4 separate regions of the Homo sapiens genome follow, and all the other regions are linked to region 2. Evidence: promoter capture Hi-C in human tissues and cell types (Jung and others, 2019). All regions are on one chromosome and are shown on one strand. The core of a region is centred on a gene start or on the middle of the fragment in contact, and the rest is flanking DNA. Distances in the headings are between cores, read along the strand shown. Region 1 overlaps LOC102723803 (a long non-coding RNA gene). Region 2 holds the start of DMRT2 (doublesex and mab-3 related transcription factor 2). Region 3 overlaps LOC102723803 (a long non-coding RNA gene). Region 4 overlaps LOC102723803 (a long non-coding RNA gene).

What was found. Contacts are between HindIII fragments. The study calls those that stand out against the background at their distance.
Region 1: a fragment that was not itself captured here is called in contact with the fragment with the promoter of DMRT2 in region 2 in 2 of the 25 tissues and cell types used here (mesendoderm cells and stomach).
Region 3: a contact is called between a fragment that was not itself captured here and the fragment with the promoter of DMRT2 in region 2, in 2 of the 25 tissues and cell types used here (mesendoderm cells and thymus).
Region 4: a contact is called between a fragment that was not itself captured here and the fragment with the promoter of DMRT2 in region 2, in 2 of the 25 tissues and cell types used here (mesenchymal stem cells and mesendoderm cells).

Annotation. Positions count from the first base shown.
Region 1 is chr9:1,400,437-1,406,461 of GRCh38, reverse strand. The region is part of intron 3 of LOC102723803 (a long non-coding RNA gene); the gene reads right to left. Among named protein-coding and RNA genes, the nearest start is that of DMRT2, 350 kb to the right of the region's middle. The HindIII fragment of the contact is 7,432 bases long and covers 1-6,025 here.
Region 2 is chr9:1,049,107-1,051,606 of GRCh38, reverse strand. DMRT2 (doublesex and mab-3 related transcription factor 2) reads right to left here and starts at 1,250. Exons shown (of 4, transcript NM_181872.6): 1 at 832-1,250; 2 at 1-37. RefSeq lists an enhancer at 609-1,478. The HindIII fragment of the contact is 14,990 bases long and covers 1-2,500 here.
Region 3 is chr9:1,342,332-1,349,064 of GRCh38, reverse strand. The region is part of intron 3 of LOC102723803 (a long non-coding RNA gene); the gene reads right to left. Among named protein-coding and RNA genes, the nearest start is that of DMRT2, 300 kb to the right of the region's middle. The HindIII fragment of the contact is 5,830 bases long and covers 1-5,605 here.
Region 4 is chr9:1,421,375-1,428,005 of GRCh38, reverse strand. The region is part of intron 3 of LOC102723803 (a long non-coding RNA gene); the gene reads right to left. Among named protein-coding and RNA genes, the nearest start is that of DMRT2, 370 kb to the right of the region's middle. The HindIII fragment of the contact is 4,038 bases long and covers 1-3,337 here.

The sequences.
Region 1 (6,025 bases), core at 1,259-3,758, 350 kb before region 2:
GGGTGGGGATAACACTTACTTGGGTGGCCTCACCTCTCTCCTAAGCCAGCAGCATTAAGGCTCAGGGGCACTGTCTTGAGCTTGTAGGTTCTGTGCAAAGTACAAACCAGGCAGGGCCTGGAGATCAAGGCACAGGCAAGATCTACTGGCTTCTTCGGCTCCCACTTTCCTCCTGAACAAGTTAGGTAGGACAAGCCAGGCCAGCCTCTTCCCTCAGCCTGTTTTCAGTGCTTGAGGGTTTGAAGGGAAGCATCACATCAATTTTCATTCCATCTTTGCTGTTACTAAAACTCATGCTTTGATAACCATCGTGAGGCTCCCAGGAGGCCTGTTAAAAGCATTTTGGGTGCATCAGTCTTCATTGTGCCAAACTGCTCTGAACAGAATGAGATGTCTCATTTCTCTGCCTCCTTCCATTGCATTTCAGGAATACCCCCAAACATGTGACCCCTAAAACACATTTCCACATATTTTCAAACCCTCTAGAAGAATGATAGAGCCCCTGTATCTAGGCCTCCTTTTGGTCCAAAATCAAAGCTGAGGACAGCTGAACCTTGACATCCCACACCAATAGTAAATTCTATATTTAACTTGTGATATTGGCGCCACCGCTGTTAATATAGCAGGATTGGTCAAGAAAATGTATCACTTTATCCCTGAGACATGCAAGGCACAATTCAAAAACTGCTCTTGCTCCACGAAACTCAAAGGAAAATATTGTCTCCACCTGGGAGCAGACTTAGCACTTCATAAACTCAAAAAAAAATGGCAAATAGAGTGTGCTTTTAAAATTAAACTGTTTCACACAGATGGTGGAAGGCTAATCCCAACCTACCTCACCCCCGTACTCCCTACATCCAAAACACACATGCAGAGAGAGTGGCTCCTACTATAGATGAGTTATTTGCATTCATATGGACAGTTTTGAGAGTGGAAGAAAGGAAGGATTTATATGAGGGAAATATATACTGAAGATTGACTTTTCAGGCAAATGCTTGTTAGTGTTGCACCGCTCCTTGGGGTATCCTGAGGTTGAGGATTTAATCAGGATTCTTGGAAAGCAGACTAAATTGTGACCACAGACAATAAATTATAGGCAATTAGGTCTACATTTGATCCATTTTCCAACACACTAAGCTTCACTTACAACCCGTCTTCAGATTCAGGTTTTTCTGCAAAGAGCAAACCTACCTTGCTTTTGAGAACATAGTTCATTGGAAATGAAATGTCTCTAGGTTGATATCCAGAAGCCCAGCCACAAACAAACCCAGATTATGTTTGCAGGCAGCAAGGTATTGGGTTACTGATTCCTTCCGGAGCATATCTGTTACAATCTAGTTGAAAGTCAGCTGGCCTGGCAGAGAAGCCCTCATTTGCAAAGGTGAAAAGAGAGGGTCATGCCAGTGGAGGAGGCTGCAGAACTAGCAGGTGTTTGTAGAAGCTACCAAACACGGGCTCTAGGCCTGGCTTCATCGAAATTACCTGGAGACACTGCTAGAAATACAACTTCCTGGGGTCCCACCTGCTAAGGCTGAATTGCATCCGTTCGAAATTCATACGTTGAAGTCCTAACACCCAGGATTCCAGAATATGACTGTATATGGAGACAAGGTCTTTAACGAGGTACTTAAGGTTAAATGAAGCTCTTGGGGTGGGCTCTAATCTGATTGGTGTCTTTAAAATGAAAGATTAGGACACAGACAAGCGCAGAAAGAAGACCATGTGGAGACAAAGAGGAGAAAATGGCCAGCTACAAGCCAAGAAGAGAGGCCTTCCGAGAAACCAACCCTGATGAATTTTTGGTCTCTGACAGCTTCCAGATTGGCAAGGGAATAAATGTCTGCTGTCTAAGCCACCTGCCAAAAAGTCTGTGGTACTTATTTATGCAGACCAAATACACTCCCCTAGGAACAGCAAATTAGATTCACTAGAGGTTGGAGGGAGGAGTGAGTTTAATACACCAGGGGTTAAGAACCAACAGCAAAGGCTTCTTCCCAAGAGGCTTAAATAACTGCTTTTGTCAACCAGAAGTCATGCAGGGACCCCTCATGTACAGAGTTGCTGAGGCTATAGAATTCACCTAGGCACAGGAGGGAGCTTTGCATGTTATTCTGTTTTAGCAATGGCCACATACTCAAGCCTTAGAGGAAATTATGCAGCCCTCCTATCCCTACTATTGAAATTATCCTGTTGGTTCACTAGCATCATGTTTCATGATTACTGCTCCCTGCCCCTAGATTTGCAACTTTGTATTTTATTTGCCTAGAAGAAAATTTGATGAGCACCGCCCCCTATCTGGGTGTGGATACAAGTATTTCTGTGGCCCAGACCCACTCCAATCACCACCATCTAAAAAATCTTTCACCCATTGAACTTCCTGGCCATGCGTCCATTTGTTAATTCAATAAATATTTACTGAGTACCTATAACAAGTTAGGCATATTCTGAATCCTCGAAACATAGCAGTTAAACTTTGCTGACTAAATTCCTGTTCGCGATGAGCTTAATTTCTTGTGGTGGAACCAGACAATAGGCAAATTTTAAAATACAAACATAATTCCAGGAAAATGTTGTATAAAAGAAGAGCAGGGTGATGAAACAGAGCAGTGGTTCTCAGAGTTTGATCCCTAAATTAGCAGTATCAGCATCATCGGGGAACATGTTAGGAAAGCAGATTCTCAGCCCTCACTGAAGACTTTCTGAATCAGATGCGCTGGGGGTGGGACCATCAGTCATACAGGTTGAAATTTGAGACCCACTGCTGTAATAGTGAATGATGAAGGGAGAGTTACTTTGGAATGGATGATTAGGAGTAGCCTCTAAGAAGATGACATCTGAGCCATGACCGAAATGGTCACTTGAACTAGAACATGCCCTGGTCTCAATGCCGCATAATGGTCACTTAAGGTCTCCTGAAGTCCTTGATCTTTATTTCATGCTTACCAAACACTCTCTGATTATAACTTCCCATCAGGGATGGCTTCCTGGCTTTGAGACCTGGGCAGCCACACAAGTCTCCATGCTCAGAACGGTCCCATGTGTGGTTTAATGCTCTGCTGTTGCCATCTTGAAATTCTTAGTAATTTTATCTTTGAATCTGTGTTTTGTAACTGAAATCCAATAGGACAATGGAGCAGGCACATGAACAAAGGAGATACAGGCAACGTGCATGCTCTTCCATTCACAAACAGCATTTGCAATGCCCCATGAGCCCAGAAGTCTGGTGGACTTCTAATTCATGGGCATTCAGCACAATCCAAAGGGAGTTTAATGTAAGCATGTTATGCCTACAACTGAATAAGCAGGGACACTGATAGCCCAGAGTGGCCATGCTCTCCATTCTAACTAGAACTTGCTTCAGATGCAGAAAGAATGCAATGATGTTCTAAGTAACAAGAACTACCAAGGAACCCTATTGTATATCTTCTTACCCATGTTATTTCTCTGTATTGCCCAACTACTTATGCTGAAAAATATGGCATAGACAGGAACATATAGGGAAACCCATAATTCCTTTTTCCTTTCAGTTCTTCCTTATTCCTCAGTAAGCCCAAAGTGAGGAGTGTTAGTACAAACTGGTGAATCAAGAAGTGAAAGAGAAACAATTGGGTTAGTTTTGTGCAGCCATTCCATTGTTCTTGTGAGAACAAAATACATATGCATGCGTGAGCTATGAAATACCCATTGTGTAATTTTCATGATTCCTATATGAGTTAAATGATCTTAAATTTGCCTATAAAACTAGCATTGTACAATATAAACAGTAAAATTCATGTTAATAATTTTTTATTGTTCTTCACTTAAAATGACATTAAACTGTAAATTTAAAATACCAAGTTGAGAGAAATACAAAGGAAGACAGGGAGAAGCCTTACCATTTAGTTCCTTTAATGAAATTTTTTTCCTGCTTTTTGAACAAGAAGACTCACATTTTCATTTTGCACTGGGCCTCATAAATTATGGAGCTGGCACTGCTTGCAATTAGAAAGCTGCCCACAGAGAGAGAAGGCACACTCCCCATGCTGGCACGAGCATTCCAAGACATGCAGCTGCTATATTTCTCTTTGTCACAAATGGGTCATCAGGTGGAGCATCCATCTTTAGGAAGGTGCCAGGTGGCACTGTTATCAGAAAGGTGCAGCTACATTCTTGTCAGTGAGGAAGCTGATAGCCTCCATAAATTAAAAAGGAAACTTTTGTCTTCAGCTCATACCCACATGCCACAATGGTAGCAGATTCTTTATGAACAGTCATGAGTGTAGCTTTCAAGATTGGGTACAATGTTGAGTCTTGAAAAACATGGTCTATCTTTTGTGAGACCACTGGGCCACTTCCCAACAAGCAAAAGATGGAAATAGGACTAGCTACACAGACAGTTCCCCGAAGAACAAGCACAGCACAAAAACATTAGTTTATTGACTTGTGCTAAAACATTGTACACACAGCCTGGTGAGACTTGAGTGGAGATTCAAATTGTTTAAAATTAAGAGGCTTTAGGGCCCTGTCTTACTTTTACATTCTACTAAAAACTCAAGTTACACTTACATGTAATGGACATGGGTTCCCCTTTCTCTAATCCACTTCCAAGTTACATTGCATACCTTTAACAACCAACCAATATGAAAAACAAGGGAAAGTCCTCTTGACTTCGCCTGCCCAGAGTTCAATACCAAACACTAAGAGGGACCTTCATTTACAGGCAGCTCCAAGACCTGGTGTGTGTCACCTCACACGGTCAGATACATTGCTCCAGCCACTTCGCTTCATAAGAAATCTGGGATCTCTCTCACATGTGGTGCCAGAGGAGGCACAAAGGCTGTTTTCATGGACTTCGGCAGGTTTACGAGGCTGAATGCGCCAAGATTTCGGGGTTATGGCACTATCCCACTCATTTCTTATTAGGATGTTCCTTCATCATTAGGAATTCCTTTCAGTCCCAAATGATTTCAGTCCTGTTATTGAGCCATTAGTTAACAGAAAGGGCTTAGAACCAAAATCCTTACCTCCCGGTCGAAGCCATTAGCTCTTGGAGATCGATTTTTATAAGTTTTTAAAATGCTGACCTTGGGGAATACGGTGTTCTATTAGGTGAAAACACGAGTAATGGATTTATTTTCCACCATCGAAATAAAGAAATAAATACCCTTTACTGATAATTAATGTGTGGGAAACATTCTGAAAGAGTTCAGAGGTGGGCTTTCTCCCCAGCTTCGCTAGAAAATAAAGAGCTGCCTCTTGTACTGCTGTTGCAGAGATGCTGGAGGCCAGCCAAATGGGGGAGCCCTGGCTCTGTCTCTAACCATCCTCATCTGCCTGACAGCTTCCTCTGCGGGCTGTTTCTTCATCTTCAAGGTTGGACTAGCTCAGAGGTTTTCCGACTGTGCTCCATGAAGTTCTTAAGAAAGAGGTTATTAAACCTTAGTGAACATAAAGGATCACTTGGGAAGTGTGTTCACAATTCAAATTCTTACCCCTGAGCTTCACATTCCATAGGTCAGGGAGGAAGGAGGACCCAGCCATCTAAATTATTAATATGTTCTTTGGCTGATTCTGACTCTGGGATTGTGGAGGTGCCCCTGAAGTTTTGGAGAGGAAGAGGGTGGATGTGAAAAGGGCCTTACCACCTCCACCACTGCATTGAGGAAAGCAGCTCAGTCTTCCTCTGTTTAAAGATTAAGCTCCCCACAAGATCAAGCTTGATTTAAAAAAAAACCTCAAAACCCAGCAATAAGGGTTGACAAGCCCAGGACTAAACGTCCTCTATGCTGTTTGCAGTACCACTGTCTAGGATTCCAGGAAGCCCATGGTGAAATGGGTTTAACTTGGAGTAGATACATGCAACACATTAATAGCTTTCACTCTTTCACTTGGAAACCTTCAGGTGTTTCCAGAGAAGAGACACTTCTCCCTAGACTCCAGGGCATTCATCAAACACTTCTCCTCACATAATTAAAAAAATAAAACGGAGGTACTTCACTTCCTTAAAAAAAATTCAATAATGGCTTATGGATTGAGCTGTGTCCCT
Region 2 (2,500 bases), core at 1-2,500:
GGGGCTTCGCTGGGGCCTGAGCCTGGCGGCCCTCACTCTGGGGAAACACAAAGAAATCCAAAGACCCACCGGCCGCCGTCAGGGACCATCCCTGAGCCTCCGGCCCAAAGCTCCTGGTCTGCCCGCCTCCGGCCGCTTGAGTCATCCTGTTCTCATTACATGTCCCTCACTTCCAGGCCACACGTGCCTTTCCTGTATCTCCAGGGCCCCCAGGGATCCACAACCCAACAAAGGTTTTATTTTATTAATTCTAAGTGCTCTGTGAGTACCTGACCTTTAACCGTGGCCCTCTCTGGCTTTACACGGGCTTTCCGGACAAGTCCCTGGGTAACTCACTTATCACACACACACAAAATATTGTGTCCAAATAGGCAGCCCCAGGCCACTTGTCGGATTTCCCCATACTCAACTAGTATGGCCATGATGCATATAAAACTATCCGTGGAAGAACAGTTTTCCTTTGATTACAAGTGGCCCTTCAGACTCACTGAAGTACCACTCTATGCTTCCCAAATGCCTCTCATCAGCCTACACCACCACAAGGACCCCTCCTTGGGCTTGAAGAGGTCCTCTCACCCCCCTCCCCAAAATACTCAACTGAAAACCAAAATTTTGTTGTCATTAGCGTCCCATAAGGGCAAAGAGCACAATACAGACGCCCGTCCAGCCTTAATAGTACCTGAGGTGCACAGGGCTGAGCCGCGTGGGCTCTCTGTACTTAGGCCTTGGTTTATATATTTAAGGTAAGGCATCCAAGTCACACAGAAAAGGTGAAAGATGATTCACGCCCTTTGCCCTCCCTGACACCCCGAGCGGCATCACAGCACTCACCAAAACTTTGAGGCCCGGGCTGGTAGCCCAGTTAAAAGATATCCAGCTTTAGGATCTGGCGCTAGGGCTGCTGGCTGTGCATGCAAACAGAAATCGGGGTCGCTACCCTCAAACACGAGATCGGGAGCTGATAGCTGGAGGCCCGGAACGAACCCACTGGATGGTGGAGGGGGAGGGAGAAGGTAGGTGGAGGGAAGGAGGGAGGAAGCCAGTCAAGTCCTCAGCGACCTAGCCCAGCACATCCCGAACTCTGCAAAGTTCTGCTCGGTCTTCTGCAGCCTCGGGCGCCTCACCTTGCTGAGGCCGCTTTCGGCTTCCTCTGACCCAGGCTGGGCGGGAAAGGTCGGGCCGCCCCCGCCTGGCTCAGATCGCTGGCTCACCCGGCGGGCGCGCGCAGTTGCATTCAGCGCAGCGCCACTGGCTTCAGTCTGCAGACTGCGCTCCCCTTCCTAGTACTGTCCGCTCAGGCCCCGGAGCTTTACGTCCTCTGATTGGCCGGTTGTCAGGCGGTGTGAATACTGATTGGCCGAGGCACGCTGGCAGGGAGCCCTCCGCCTCCCGCGGTCTACACTCTTCTCTCTGAAGCGCTCCGCCAGAGTCCGCCTACCGGGCCTTCGGTGCAGCCGGCTCGCCTGTCCAGAATCTAAACCCGAGGTATGACGGTGCCTGCAAGAGAGAAGTCACCATTTATCTCGCGGACTGGGAAACAAGCAGAGATACATTCTTAGGAATGCGTTGTCCACAAGAGAAGGTAATAAACGACGAGGAAGAGATCAGAAAGACCAGTATTGGCCTCTATCAGCATCACAAGCATTTCTGCGACTCAATCAATCATTAATCCAAACTGGGCGTAAAAATGATGCCTCTCTTTCGGGGCGTACAGCGACATCCTTCTTTCTCCTGCAAGAGTACATCAATGGTTACCTGGCACCGAAACTCCTAGTTAGCATACAAATAGCCTGTTGATATTTCTGTGTCTAGTGCCACCTATTCTCGAAGTGCCAAATAGCTCCTCATTAACCTTCACCGAGCCCGTGTGGCAGGTGGCCAAGTCGACTACAAGTCACTTACATTTTTCTGTTATATCAGTTGCTATTACAGTTAATGTAGGGAAGATCAGAAATGCATGCTATTAAGAGAATTAGGTAAATCCATTCACACTAAGCATGCATTTAAACAAAGTTATTTTTAAAAAGATGACTACTTTTTAGTGTGCGTAGTTGTATTTATAGACTTTCTAACGACTCCCTCAAAAAATCCTTTACAAAATGTTTAACGATAAAAAATTTTCAACATATTAAAAGAAGGAATTAGTCTTCTAATTCAACGCTGCATTCTATTTCTTGAACTCAATTAAAAATAATATGGGCGCTTTTCTAACTGCATCTGTAAATAATCAAGACCTCTCGAGTAGGATCTGTTTAGGAGACTACAAAATTGGGTATCATTGCACTGAGTACATAGTAGGCCCGCAACAAATATTTGTTGAAGGGTGGGAATTCCTGACGTAATCCCAACGTTACTTTTGTCCGAGTTTGTCAGAATGTTAAAAGTTAACCTGGATCAGAGAAGTGGGAACAAAGGCAGCTTAGGAACTACCGCGACCAGCCAGAAGCACTATTCTCAAACCTTCAGTGATGTTGTAAAGTTCCTCCCCGGTGACCAGGCA
Region 3 (6,733 bases), core at 1,441-3,940, 300 kb before region 2:
GTTTTTCTCCACCAGAATATAGAGTCAATGACCACAAAATTTTACTTTACTCACTGTAGTGGCTATACTAGTGCCTGGCACATAACTGGCATTCAATACTTGTTAAATGAATGAATAAATGAATCTTCAGAACTGAACCTTTTCTCTGATTCCTTGCCTAAACTTACTATCTTTCATCTCTTTTTCAAAATAGTCATTCTAACAGATGTGAGGTGATATCTCATTCGGTTTTTTTGTTTGTATAAGGTTAAAAGGTACAAGTGCATTTTGTTACATGGATGTATTACGTAGTGGTGAAGTCTAGGCTTTCAGTGTAATCATTACACAAATAATGTACATTGCACCCATTAAGTTTTTATCTTCCTTCATCCACCTCCCCACATCCCACCCTCTCAGCTTCTGTGTCTCCAATGTCTATTATTTCACACTCTATGTTCATATATACTCATTATTTAGCTTCCACTTACAAATGAGAACACGTGGTATTTGACCTCCTGTTTCTGAGTTATTTCATTTAAGGTAATGGCCTCCAGGTTCATCCATGATGCTGCAAAAATATGATTTTATTCTTTTTAAGATATCTCATTGTTTTAATTTGCATTTTCTTTTTTATTTTTTTTGGTTTGTCTGTTGGTTTGTTTGTTTGTTTTTGAGATGGAGTCTTGCTCTATCACCCAGGCTGGAGTGCAGTGGTACAATCTCGGCTTACTGCAACCTCCACCTCCTGGGTTCAAGCGATTCTCCTTCCTCAGCCCTCCAAGTAGCGGGATTATTCAGGCACATGCCACCAGGCCCAGATAATTTTTGTATTTTTAGTAGAGACAGGGTTTCACCATGTTGGCCAGGCTGGCCCCAAACACCTGACCTCAAGTGATCTGCCCGCCTCAGCCTCACAAAGTGCTAGGATTACAGGCATGAGCCACCACACCCAGCCTTGCATTTTCTTCATGATATAACTTATCATCAGGGAAATGATATATATCTATCTACCTGTTGTCCATTTTCTAATAGTTTACATTAAAACTTCACTATCATGTTAATTTGGTAAATGTCTGATAATGTCTTCTGGAGTATTAAAAAGAATTATGTTTTTAGCTTATAACAAATATGGTTGCAATTTTGTAGACCTTTTGTATTTATTTTATAATACTTTATATTTTGTCGTATTTTTCTAAAGAAATTGCCAACAAAAAATATATACAGATTAATTATCAATTCATCTCATATGGCAAAAAAAACCTTTGCTATAAATAGGCAATACTCTAGAATGATTTTATTTATATAAATAGTATAATTCTTTTATGACTGAAGTTGTGATTTCCTCTAATTCTTCCCTGAACCACTGCTTCAGATATTTGCAATCTGATAAAAATTATTGCCTTTAGTTCTCCTGTTTGATCTTAGAGTGAAGGATTAATCCTAGTAAATACATTGTCATGTAAACTTTTCTGACATTAGGTTCCATTTAACTACTTTGGAGCAGAATCAAGCAGAATAATAACTATGAATTCAGTAGCTTTTGTTTATAAAGCAAAAGTGTCTGACAATCACCAAAAACAAAAATATGAACATACTGAGTGGGAAAACACATTGTTTTTTAAAAAGAGAACCTGCTTTTCCTTAGTTTTAAGATGCCCAGAAGAAAATGAATTCTTTACATGAAAACAACTGACAACCTCCCAGTAAAGTGGAGGAAGGACTAAAATGATAGATTAGAATTTCATGGGCTTAAGAGTCTAAAAATTGGTGAAATTTTAACCGAGATATTTATGTAGAAACTTCTAAGCTGATGAACCACAAGCCTTTATAACTATGATTCTTCCATCCTTAACTTGACTCATTTCTCATGCACTCTCCACTTCCACCTTTCTAGATGTCTTCCGGTACTCTCACTTTCCTCTAAACTTTCAAATTTGCTGTACCTTTCACTGGGACATTCTTCTCCCAAACAAACCCCCTTCCCCTCCAATTCTAACTCTTAGTCTCTCAACTGTAAAATGAGTATTATCGGAAATGAGCTAATAATGCACATTAGTGCTTACTCCAGTGTTTGGCACGTGGTGAACAATGAACAAATGTTCCTCATTATTTTTACCACTGGTGTCCTCAACAAGGCAGTTTCAGTTGGATAAATATGCTGGAATGACTATTTGGGGCATTTGGTAGGCCCACAGGGAGATGTTTGGGAGTATGTAATTCATTTGGGGAATAGAAATTTCTAAAACACTATGTGTAGGGTTGGTCTTCTACCTAATGGTTATTTAGTTGAGTTATTCCAAAGTGGAGCATAACGCAGAACAGAAAAGCATGAAATGAAAAGGATTTAACGGGGAAATTCCAGCTCTACCATATCCCCAGGGACTCCTCTCTTTACCACAGAAAGAAAATTCATTTATTCAACAGATGTCTGTTGAATACCTGTGCCAGGCCCTACGTAGAATCTAGACATGGAAACCACATTGAGCCAAACAGACTAAAATTTCTTCCCTGATAGAGCTTTTGTTCTAAAGGGGCTAGGCAGACAATAAAGAAAATAAATAAGGATTTGTTTGTAAGACTCTGGTAAGTCCTATGGAGGAAAATAAAGCAGGGTGACTAGTTTGAGCAGACCAGTAAGCGGGCAGGCAACAATTTTATTTTAAGTAGGGTATTTCACACCTAGCCTAGGTGTGAAAGGGATATTTGATCAAATACTTGAAGGAGAAAGAGAGCAAGACGTGTGTACATCTGAGTGCTCCAGGCAGAACAAGCAACCAGTGCAAAGGCCCTGAGGTGCTAGGGAGGTGCCTGATTGTTTAAAGGACAGGAGAGAGGACAGGATGGCTGCAGAAGAATGAATGACAGGGAGCATTTCAGGAGCCAGATCACCAAAGGTCTTGCAAGCTATGTAAGAACATTGGCTTTTACCCTCGGCGAGATGGGAAGACAATTCTGGGGTCTGAGTAGAGATGAAAGGAGATCTGACTTAGGTTTTTAAAAGATAAGAGAATTGTCTTGTCTTTTAAGACAAACATTTGTTACCTTTCATATTTATTTATAAATATAAGATCATGTTATGATGACATGAACTTATATTTAGAAAACCCTAAGGAATCTACCAAACAACTGCTAGAACTGAAAAACTCAGTAAAGTTGGAGGATACAAAATCATCATATACAAATCAATAGTGTTTCTATGCACTGACAACTATCCAAAAAAGAAATCAATAAAAAATTTAATTTATGATAGCTACCAGAAAAAAAAATACTTAAGAATATATTTAACCAAGGAGGTGAAAGACCTGTACATTGAAAATTATAAAACATTGATTACAGAAATTGAAGAAGACACAAATAAATGGAAAGATATCCCAAGTTCATGGATTGGTAGAATAAATATTGTTAAAACGTCCATACTACCGAAAGTAATCTGCAGATTCAATGCAACCCTACCAAAATTCCAATGACATTTTTAGCAGAAATAGAAAAAAATCCTAAAATTTGCATGGAACCACAAAAGACCCTAGATAGCCAAACAATCTTGAGCAAAAACAAGAAAACTGGAAGCATCACACTACCTGACTTCAAAATATACTACAAAGGTATAATAATCAGAACAGCAAGGCACTGGCAAAAATCAGATACACAGACCAGTGGAACAAGATAGAGATCCCAGAAATAAGTCCACACAATTACAGTCAATTGATTTTTGACAAAGGTGTCAAGAACACACAATAGGAAATGATAGTCTTTTCAATAAATGGTGTTGAGGAAACTGGATATCCACATACAGAAGAATACAATTATACCTTTAACTAATACCAGATAAAAAAATCAATTCAAAATGAACTACTGACTTAAAACCTGAAACTGTAAAGTAACTAGAGAAAAGGATACAGGAAAGCTCCATGATGTTGGTCTAGGCAATGATTATTTGGATATGATTCCAAAAGCACATGCAGTAAAAGCAAGAATAAAAAAAGAGATTATATCAAACTAAAAAGCTTCAGCACGCAAAGGAAACAATCAATTAACAGAGAAAGAGATAAACTATGAAGTGGGATAACACATTTGCAAACCACACATCTGATAAAGAGTCAATGTCCAAAATATATAAGGAACTCAAACATTCCAATAGCAAAAAAAAAAAGTCAATTATAAAACTGGTAAAGGAACTGAATTGGCATTTCCCAAAAGAAGACATAAAAAATTGCCACCAGCTATATGAAAAAACATATTTAAGATCACTAATCATCAAGAAAATGCAAACTAAAACTACAATGAGTTGTCATCTCACCCCAGTTAGAAAGCCTATTTTCGAAAGATAACAAGTGCTGGCAAGGATGTAGAGAAAAGAAAACCCTTGCACACTGTTGGTAGAAATGTAAATTAGCATAGCCACTATAAAAAACAGTATGGATTTTCACTAAAAAATTAAAAATAGAACCACCATATGATCCGGCAATCCCACTGCTGAGTATAAACCCAAAGGAAATAAATCAGTATGTCAAAGAGCTATCTGGACTCCCATGTTTATTTCAGCACTATTCACAATAGCCAAGACATGGAATTAACTTAAGTGTCCATTAAAGGATGAATAAAGAAAATGTGGCATATATACACAATGGAGTACTATTCAGCCATAAGAAAGAAGGAAATACTATCATTTGCAAAAACATGGATGAACCTGGAGGACATTATGTTAATTAAAATAAGCAAGGCACAAAAAGATGAATATTGCATGATCTCACGTGTGGAATCTGAAAACTGAACTCATCGATGCAGAGAGTAGACTGGTGGGCACCAGAGGCTGGGGTAGGAAAGGGGAAAAGATGTTGGTCAAAGGGTACAAAATTTCAGGTAGACAGGAGGAATAAGTCCAAGAGACCTATTGTACAATGTGGTGACTATAGTTAATAACACTGTATTATATTATGGAAAATTGCTAAGAAAGTAGATTTTAAGTGCTCTCATCACAAAAGATAAGTATGTGAGGTAATACGTATGTTAATTAGCTGATTTAGCCATTCCACAGTGTACACATACTTCAAAACATGTTATACAAGATAAATATAAACAATTTTTGCCAATTAAAAAAATAAAAAAAGTAAATACATTGGAAAGAGCGTGGTATGAAATGAGCCTAGTAAATCCAGCTATCCAGGAAACCCAGAAATTTATGAATGTGCAGCCAACCTGCTATGGACTGAATCGTGTCCCCCCAAGTTCATATGTTGAAGCCCTAACCCGAAAGTGAAGGTGTTTGCAGATGGGGCTTTTGGAAGGTGATTAGGGAGACATGAGGCCATGAGGGTGGAGCACTCATAATAGGATTAGGGCCCTTAGAAGAACAGGAAGAGAGACAGTTCTCTCTTCATTATGTAAGGACACAGCTAGAAGATGACTGTCTGCAAATCAGAAAGAGGAACCTTACCAAAACTCAGACATGGTAGCACCCTTATCTCAGATTTCCATCCTCCAGAACAGTGAGAAAAAAATACCTGCGTTTAACCTGCCCAGTCTATTATAATTTGTTATAGCAGCCAAAGATGACTAAGACACAACCTTTCCTTTTGCATGCCCTCCCCGGCCCAAGAGTGAAAAGACCAGTGGACAGAGACAGAATACTCCAAGCCCAGGAAAGCCCGGAGCTGCAGCTTTTCTGAGCACAGACGGAAAGAATGAGCTTGGCCTGTGCTGCCAGAGCAAGTGGCTCACCTTGCCATGTCTGTATCTCAACTCCTTTCAACCAGGGATTTAAAATAAGCTGAAACATCCCTTGAATGCCTGCCACATGCTTCCAAGACACTATAGGCCACCGAGAGGGGAACAAGTAGCCAAAACATTTCCTCACAGTTCTCAAGACTTCACTACCAGTCATGGTCAGGGAGAAGGTAAATCTCAGTTTTGAAGGCTGATGGTTTGTTTTCCTATAGTCAACCCTAAGTAAACGAACAACTACCAAGCAGTACTATAGTTTTCATATGAAATGATAGAATATTAGACATTTCTATTTCTCCTCTGGGCAACATAACCCGTTGGTGTATTTCAGATACCAAGTTAATTGATTTAACAAGAACAAAGAGGAAAATCTTCTGGTGTACATTAATCAGGAGGAAAACAAATCAGTTTAACATATTATTATGTGGTCTTCTCTCCAAGTTGCTTCAATATAATTATTCATTGAGGAAGAAAATATTAAGATAAGGCTAGGAAGCACATAACTCCATGGCTAAAACCAAGTAAAAGTACTTCATTCAACAGTGCCACAGATCAAAACTATTCTTAAGTCTTGCCTCCCTTAAGAATTGACTCGACCCCAAATAAAATTGCCAAGTGAGCGAAATCTGTCTTTCACTTACTCATCTACATTCTATGTCCCTTTTTAACCCTCTATCACTTTTCACTTTCCATATCCCATTGATTTTAGGATACTGCCTGAGGCCATAATCCTTGAGAAAGATATCTGAAATCATGCTAATACTTTTTTGTAAATTAATTTAATATTATTCTCATGTGTATTGACACTTTTAAAAAAGACTTCTGAGTTAATAGCCCTCTCCTTGAATGATGTCCATGGCTTAAATGGCAAAATCTATATTCTAGAGTAAAATATGCCAAACCTATATTTCCAGCTCTAAAATATCTTGCAAGCTCCAGACATACATTCCTGGCTAAGAACCATAGCCAGTGTGGGGTAATGTGGTGAATAACACTGGTTTAAAGTCTTATATGCACCTCGTAGTTATTAACT
Region 4 (6,631 bases), core at 69-2,568, 380 kb before region 2:
TCTAGTGTCCTCCCTGATGGTGGTGTTTCTTCATTTGACTCCCACACTTAACCATCTCTACCCAAGGCAATAGAATACCAGTTTGTCAAACTTCCATAGCCTCTCAAAAAATCAGTTTATCCACAGCTTTTTTAAGAAGATGTTGGGCACAAGGAGTAATACAACATTGGGTAGGTTTTCTAACAGTGGAAACCACCACACTGTTATCAGACTTGAGTATCAGAATTTGGGGCAACACCTATAACTCTACACCGAGTGAAGAAATTAGGAAGGTATTGATTTCCTTGAACTTCTTGGGAATGGATCTTTCACCCAGCCCAATGTCAGAGTTGCCTGGGATTTTCATTCATTCAGAGCTCCCAACTGAGCCAACAAAAACTACTGGACCTAAAAACAACTTTCAGGACAAAACCAGCACATAAATCAAAAGTAGTATTAAAGTCTTCAGCAGGGAGAAACATCAGTATTTATTAAGTTCCTAATAAGCCAGACACTTTACACGCATTGTCTCAATGAATTCTTAGAACAACACTGTGATAATTTTATTAGTCCCACTTCACAAGAAAAACCACTGAGATTAGAAAAGTTAGACAACTCACTTGCCAAGTCAACCACCTTACCACCCGCAGTGTGTTAACCCAAGTCTATCTACTTGTGAGTCCCGTAGTCTTTTCACTACCTCATTTCCAATGTCCCCTTTGACTGTTTGATTATTTCAAGATAATTTTTAATAACACGTATATTGGAGATGGCAATTCCAGTACCTACGAAAGAATGAAACTATGAAATTTATTCCCTCCATTCTTACATAAAGGATCTTAGAGTATGAGGAACTTGATAACAACTATGGTTTGGGATGTCACAATTGCCTTTATAATAAATATTATTTTCCCAGAGTGCAAGGATAGGCATTCTTGACTTTGATGGAAAAGAGGTTTCTTTCCACATTATAATGATTGACTTCAGCACCAATGACACAAGTTAGATAGATTGAGTCCCTAGATGCTCAGATAATTAGAGATATTTAAAAGCCAGTCTATACTTGCCACCAGAGTATTTCTGAGATTATTTTATCTGGGATTATTATATAATAAACAAATATTTATATTTATAATAATAAATATGTTATTATATGTATATTTTGTCTATAGTAAACAAATAGGGTAAAGTAAGAATTTCCTCCAGAGAATTTTCAGAATGTACAGAGTTGCAGCATGGCCTGAAATTCTTTCAGCTTCCATGTCCCAACTGATCAATGTAGAATTACAAAGAGATTTGAAGGAGAGATATAGAATTACAAAGAGCATAAACTTTTCTGCTGAGAGCTCTGGACAACAGAGCTACCATGGAACATGCCTGCTGAGTATAAAGCAAGCCACCTGACTTTCAAAGAGAATTTCAGATTGACAGCTTTCAAGGGGATGGGCATATAAATTAGTCTCTTAGATAGAGCAATTAAACCAGAAATCTTAAGGCTGCTAGAACATTCTGTGTTTGGCTTGGGGTTAGGTATCAAAAGTGATGTCTTCCTTATTCTGTTTGAAAAGGGTTTCCCACTGCTAAAGACCTCCCCAGTCCTCCACTTCTCCCCTTTACTCAAGTAAGAATGAAGCTTGGGAAACATCAAAATATTAATTCAAACTCTCATGTACAGCTCTGTGCCTACTACAGAGGAAGTTACCCCAAGGATGCCTGCTTTCTGGGCCTTGAGATTTCTATCCATCAAAAATTGATTTTTCTGAATTTAAAAAAAGAGATGAATTTGACAAATGCTGTAAAAAGGTTTCAGATTGATGATTATATTACATTTTTAGGACCTGAAACTCGGTCTGTCAGAAAATAAGGCAGCATAATTATCAACCACAGAATCACTCTCCATATTCCTATATGGAATACACACAGGCTTGCAGACATCCTCTCTATTTTCCTTATTCTCAATTCAGTCTCACCTAGGGAAATTGGTGGAAGAAAAATAATTTATTTCCACTAAAAATATTTTCTTTGAGACTGCCTAGCTATTGTACAGATATATTTATTGCTGCAAAGACCATAAATGAAAACTAAAGGGAAGTTACACTCTGAGAGAACACTCATTTGTTTGTAGTACAAACTGATTTAATTAAATATTTTTGAAGAGCTCTGTTTCACAGAGATTGTGACCTAAGACTTTCTATGACCACAAACATATCAGGTGACCTGGTAAACTAAAAAGAGCTCTGTAGTCTGACAAGAGAGACCAAGATCATCGCACTTTTAGAATCACAATGCTATCAAATGATATCCCAGAAGTCACAGTACCTCCAGCCCTCAGTTTCCCTATCTATAAAGAGGCTGAAAAACTGGATGATCTCTGGGGGCCTTCAAGCTTTAATATTTTTGTTCTAATATGCTAGGGACATTTTAAAAATATGTATGACAAGAGAGGCAAATTTTAACACATTTTTTAAAACTAGAACTAATGTTTTTTGATAAATATCATACCTAAACTATAAGTAAAGCAAAGTGAAGATACAAGTGAGGGAAAATGAAGGCAGAATTATTTTCCACATTCTGAAAGCTTTCCTAAAAATCCACAACAACTGCAGAAGCAAGCCAACATCCCCTTGTTTCTGCCAGCAAATATCACAAGTGAGCTGCAGGTTTGATCACCTTGACCCTCTAACCCCAGCAATGCCAAATTGAGAAAGTCTCTGTGCAGAGGCCCACTTGGATCCTAAAATCACATTCATGCTTCTGGAGTCTTTTTCCAAAGCAGGGGATGGGGCACCCACCCAGCATAGAGGCTAGACAGCACAGCCCTGTCTCTGATTCCAGGAAGATTGCTATGAAAATGGAGATTTTAGGGACACATCCTTCCTCTTGCAACTCAGAGTTTGGTTATCCATAATCTTTTTGGATGTAGACCAGTGGAAACTCTGTGCTAAACAGTACCCACCTGTGACAGTGTTTCCAAATGTGACTCAACCAAGTTAAATGTCAACACTGGCAAGCAAAAGAAAGGAACAGGAGCTAGAAATAACTGAGGGAGGGGACTTCTGCCCCAAATGTTTCAACAACTTAGGGGAAAAAAGCTTTTTTGTTAATTATTAGATTAGATGTTGCCTGCCTGCTAACGAGTTTTAATGTCTCAGTATCTGGGTGTGGAGCCAAGATGGCCGAATAGGAACAGCTCCAGTCTACAGCTCCCAGTGTGAGCGACGCAGAAGATGAATGATTTCTGCATTTCCAACTGAGGTACCAGGTGCATCTCATTGGGGATTGTCGGACAGTGGGTGCAGTGCACCGAGCCTGAGCCAAAGCAGGGCGAGGCATCGCCTCACCCAGGAAGTGCAAGGGGTCAGGGAATTCCCTTTCCTAGGGGTGATGGACGGCACCTGGAAAATCGGGTCACTCCCACCCTAATACTGAGCTTTTCCGACGGTCTTAGCAAATGGCACACCAGGAGATTATATCCCACGCCTGGCTCAGAGGGTCCTATGCCCACGGAGTCTCGCTCATTGCTAGCACAGCAGTCTGAGATCGAACTGCAAGGTGGCAGCAAGGCTGGGGGAGGGGCACCTGCCATTGCTGAGGCTTGAGTAGGTAAACAAAGCAGCTGGGAAGCTTGAACTGGGTGGAGCCCACTGCAGCTCAAGGAGGCCTGCCTGCCTCTGTAGACTCCGCCTCTGGGGGCAGGGCATAGCCAAACAAAAGGCAGCAGAAACCTCTGCAGACTTAAATGTCCCTGTCTGACAGCTTTGAAGAGAGTAGTGGATTTCCCAGCACACAGCTTGAGATCTGAGAACAGACAGACTGCCTCCTCAAGTGGGTCCCTGACCCCCAAGTAGCCTAACTGGGAGGCACCCCCCAGTAGGGGCAGACTGACACCTCACATGGCCGGGTACTCCTCTGAGACAAAACTTCCAGAGGAACGATCAGGCAGCAACATTTGCTGTTCACCAATATCTGCTGTTCTGCAGCCTCCGCTGCTGATACCCAGGAACACAGGGTCTGGACTGGACCTCCGGCAAACTCCAACAGACCTGCAGCTAAGGGTCCTGACTGATAGAAGGAAAACTAACAAACAGAAAGGACACCCACACCAAAACCCCATCTGTATGTCACCATCATCAAAGACCAAAGGTAGATAAAACCACAAAGATGGGGAAAAAACAGAGCAGAAAAACTGAAAATTCTAAAAATCAGAGCTCCTCTCCTCCTCCAAAGGAATGCAGCTCCTCACCAGCAACAGAACAAAGCTAGATGGAGAATGACTTTGATGAGTTGAGAGAAGAAGGCTTCAGACGATCAAACTACTCCGAGCTAAAGGAGGAAGTTTGAACCAATGGCAAAGAAGTTAAAAACCTTGAAAAAAGATTAGACAAGTGGCTGACTAGAATAACCAATGCAGAGAAGTCCTTAAAGGACCTGATGGAGCTGAAAACCACGGCACAAGAACTATGTGACGAATGCAGAAGCCTCAGTAGCCGATTCAATCAACTGGAAGAAAGGGTATCAGTGATGGAAGATGAAATGAATGAAATGAAGCGAGAAGAGAAGTTTAGAGAAAAAAGAAAAAAAAGAAATGAACAAAGCCTCCAAGAAATATGGGACTATGTGAAAAGACCAAATCTACATCTGATTGGTGTACCTGAAAGTGACGGGGAGAATGGAACCAAGTTGGAAAACACTTTGCAGGATATTACCAAGGAGAATTTCCCCATTTTAGCAAGGCAGGCCAACATTCAAATTCAGGAAATACAGAGAACACCACAAAGATACTCCTCGAGAAGAGAAATAATGTCACGTACCTACAACTGTCTGATCTTTGACAAACCTGACAAGAAGAAGAAATGGGGAAAGGATTCCCTATTTAATAAATGGTGCTGGGAAAACTGGCTAGCCATATGTAGAAAGCTGAAACTGGATCCCTTCCTTACACCTTATACTAAAATTAATTCAAGATGGATTAAAGATTTAAATATTAGACCTAAAACCATAAAAACCCTAGAAGAAAACATAGGCAATACCATTCAGGACATAGGCATGGGCAAGGACTTCATGTGTAAAGCAACAAAAGCCAAAATTGACAAATGGGATCTAATTAAACTAAAGAGCTTCTGCACAGCAAAAGAAACTACCATCAGAGTGAACAGGCAACCTACAGAAAGGGAGAAAATTTTTGCAATCTACTCATCTGACAAAGGGCTAATATCCAGAATCTACAACAAACTCCAACAAATTTATAAGAAAAAAAAAACAACCCCATCAACAAGTGGGCAAAGGATATGAACAGACACTTCTCAAAAGAAGACATTTATGCAGCCAAAAGACACATGAAAAAATGCTCATCATCACTGGCCATCAGAGAAATGCAAATCAAAACCATAATGAGATACCATCTCACACCAGTTAGAATGGCAATCATTAAAAAGTCAGGAAACAACAGGTGCTGGAGAGGATGTGGAGAAATAAGAACACTTTTACACTGTTGGTGGGACTGTAAACTAGTTCAACCATTGTGGAAGTCAGTGTGGCGATTCCTTAAGGATCTAGAACTAGAAATACCATTTGACCCAGCCATCCCATTACTGGGTATATACCCAAAGGATTATAAATCATGCAGCTATAAAGACACATGCACACATATGTTTATCGCTGCACTATTCGCAATAGCAAAGACTTGGAACCAACCCAAATGTCCAACAATGATAGACCAGATTAAGAAAATGTGGCACATATACACCATGGAATACTATGCAGCCATAAAAAATGATGACTTCATGTCCTTTCTAGGGACATGGATGAAGCTGGAAACCATCATTCTCAGCAAACTATCACAAGGACACAAAACCAAACACCGCATGTTCTCACTCACAGGTGGGAATGGAACAATGAGAACACATGGACAAAGAAAGGGGAACATCACACACTGGGTCTGTTGTTGGGTGGGGGGAGGGGGGAGTGATAGCATTAGGAGATATACCTAATGTTAAATGATGAGTTAAGGGGTGCAGCACACCAGCATGGCACATGTATATATATGTAACAAACCTGCACGTTGTGCACATGTTCCCTAAAACTTAATGTATAATTAAAAAAAAAAGTCTCAGTATCTGGTAAACATTTAATCTTAGTATTTGGTAAACTGAGACTATTGGATCAAAATTGAACCCAATTTCAGCTGCTTCTTTACCAATAACCTGAATCCATCTCTCTCTGGTGCTCGTTGTACTATGCTAAGTTATGCCTGAGATGTTGAGATGCCTGTGACATGACAAAAGTAAACAGTTGAGCTGGAGGTTTGGTTCCCTTCTCACCTCTTCTCTGAAAGTCAATCTCTGGCTCTGATGTGTCACATTGGCAGTTCCTCCGGATGTCATGGCTCACAGTCACTCATTCAGCAAGTATTGTATTGACTACCAGGGATAGGCTTTGTGTTATCCCCTGAGGAAAAAAGGTGAGGCCGCATAGTCTTGTCCTTACTGAGGGCCCAGACCAACAGGCAAAGTCATACTAGAAGTGGCGACTGCAATGAGCCAGGTGCATATGAGGGACAGAGCCTCTATCCACCCAGTGGAATTAGGGGAAACTTCTTGGAAAAAGTAGTGCTTGGGGCACACTTGAAGGACAAGTGCTGCCAGACTGTGTC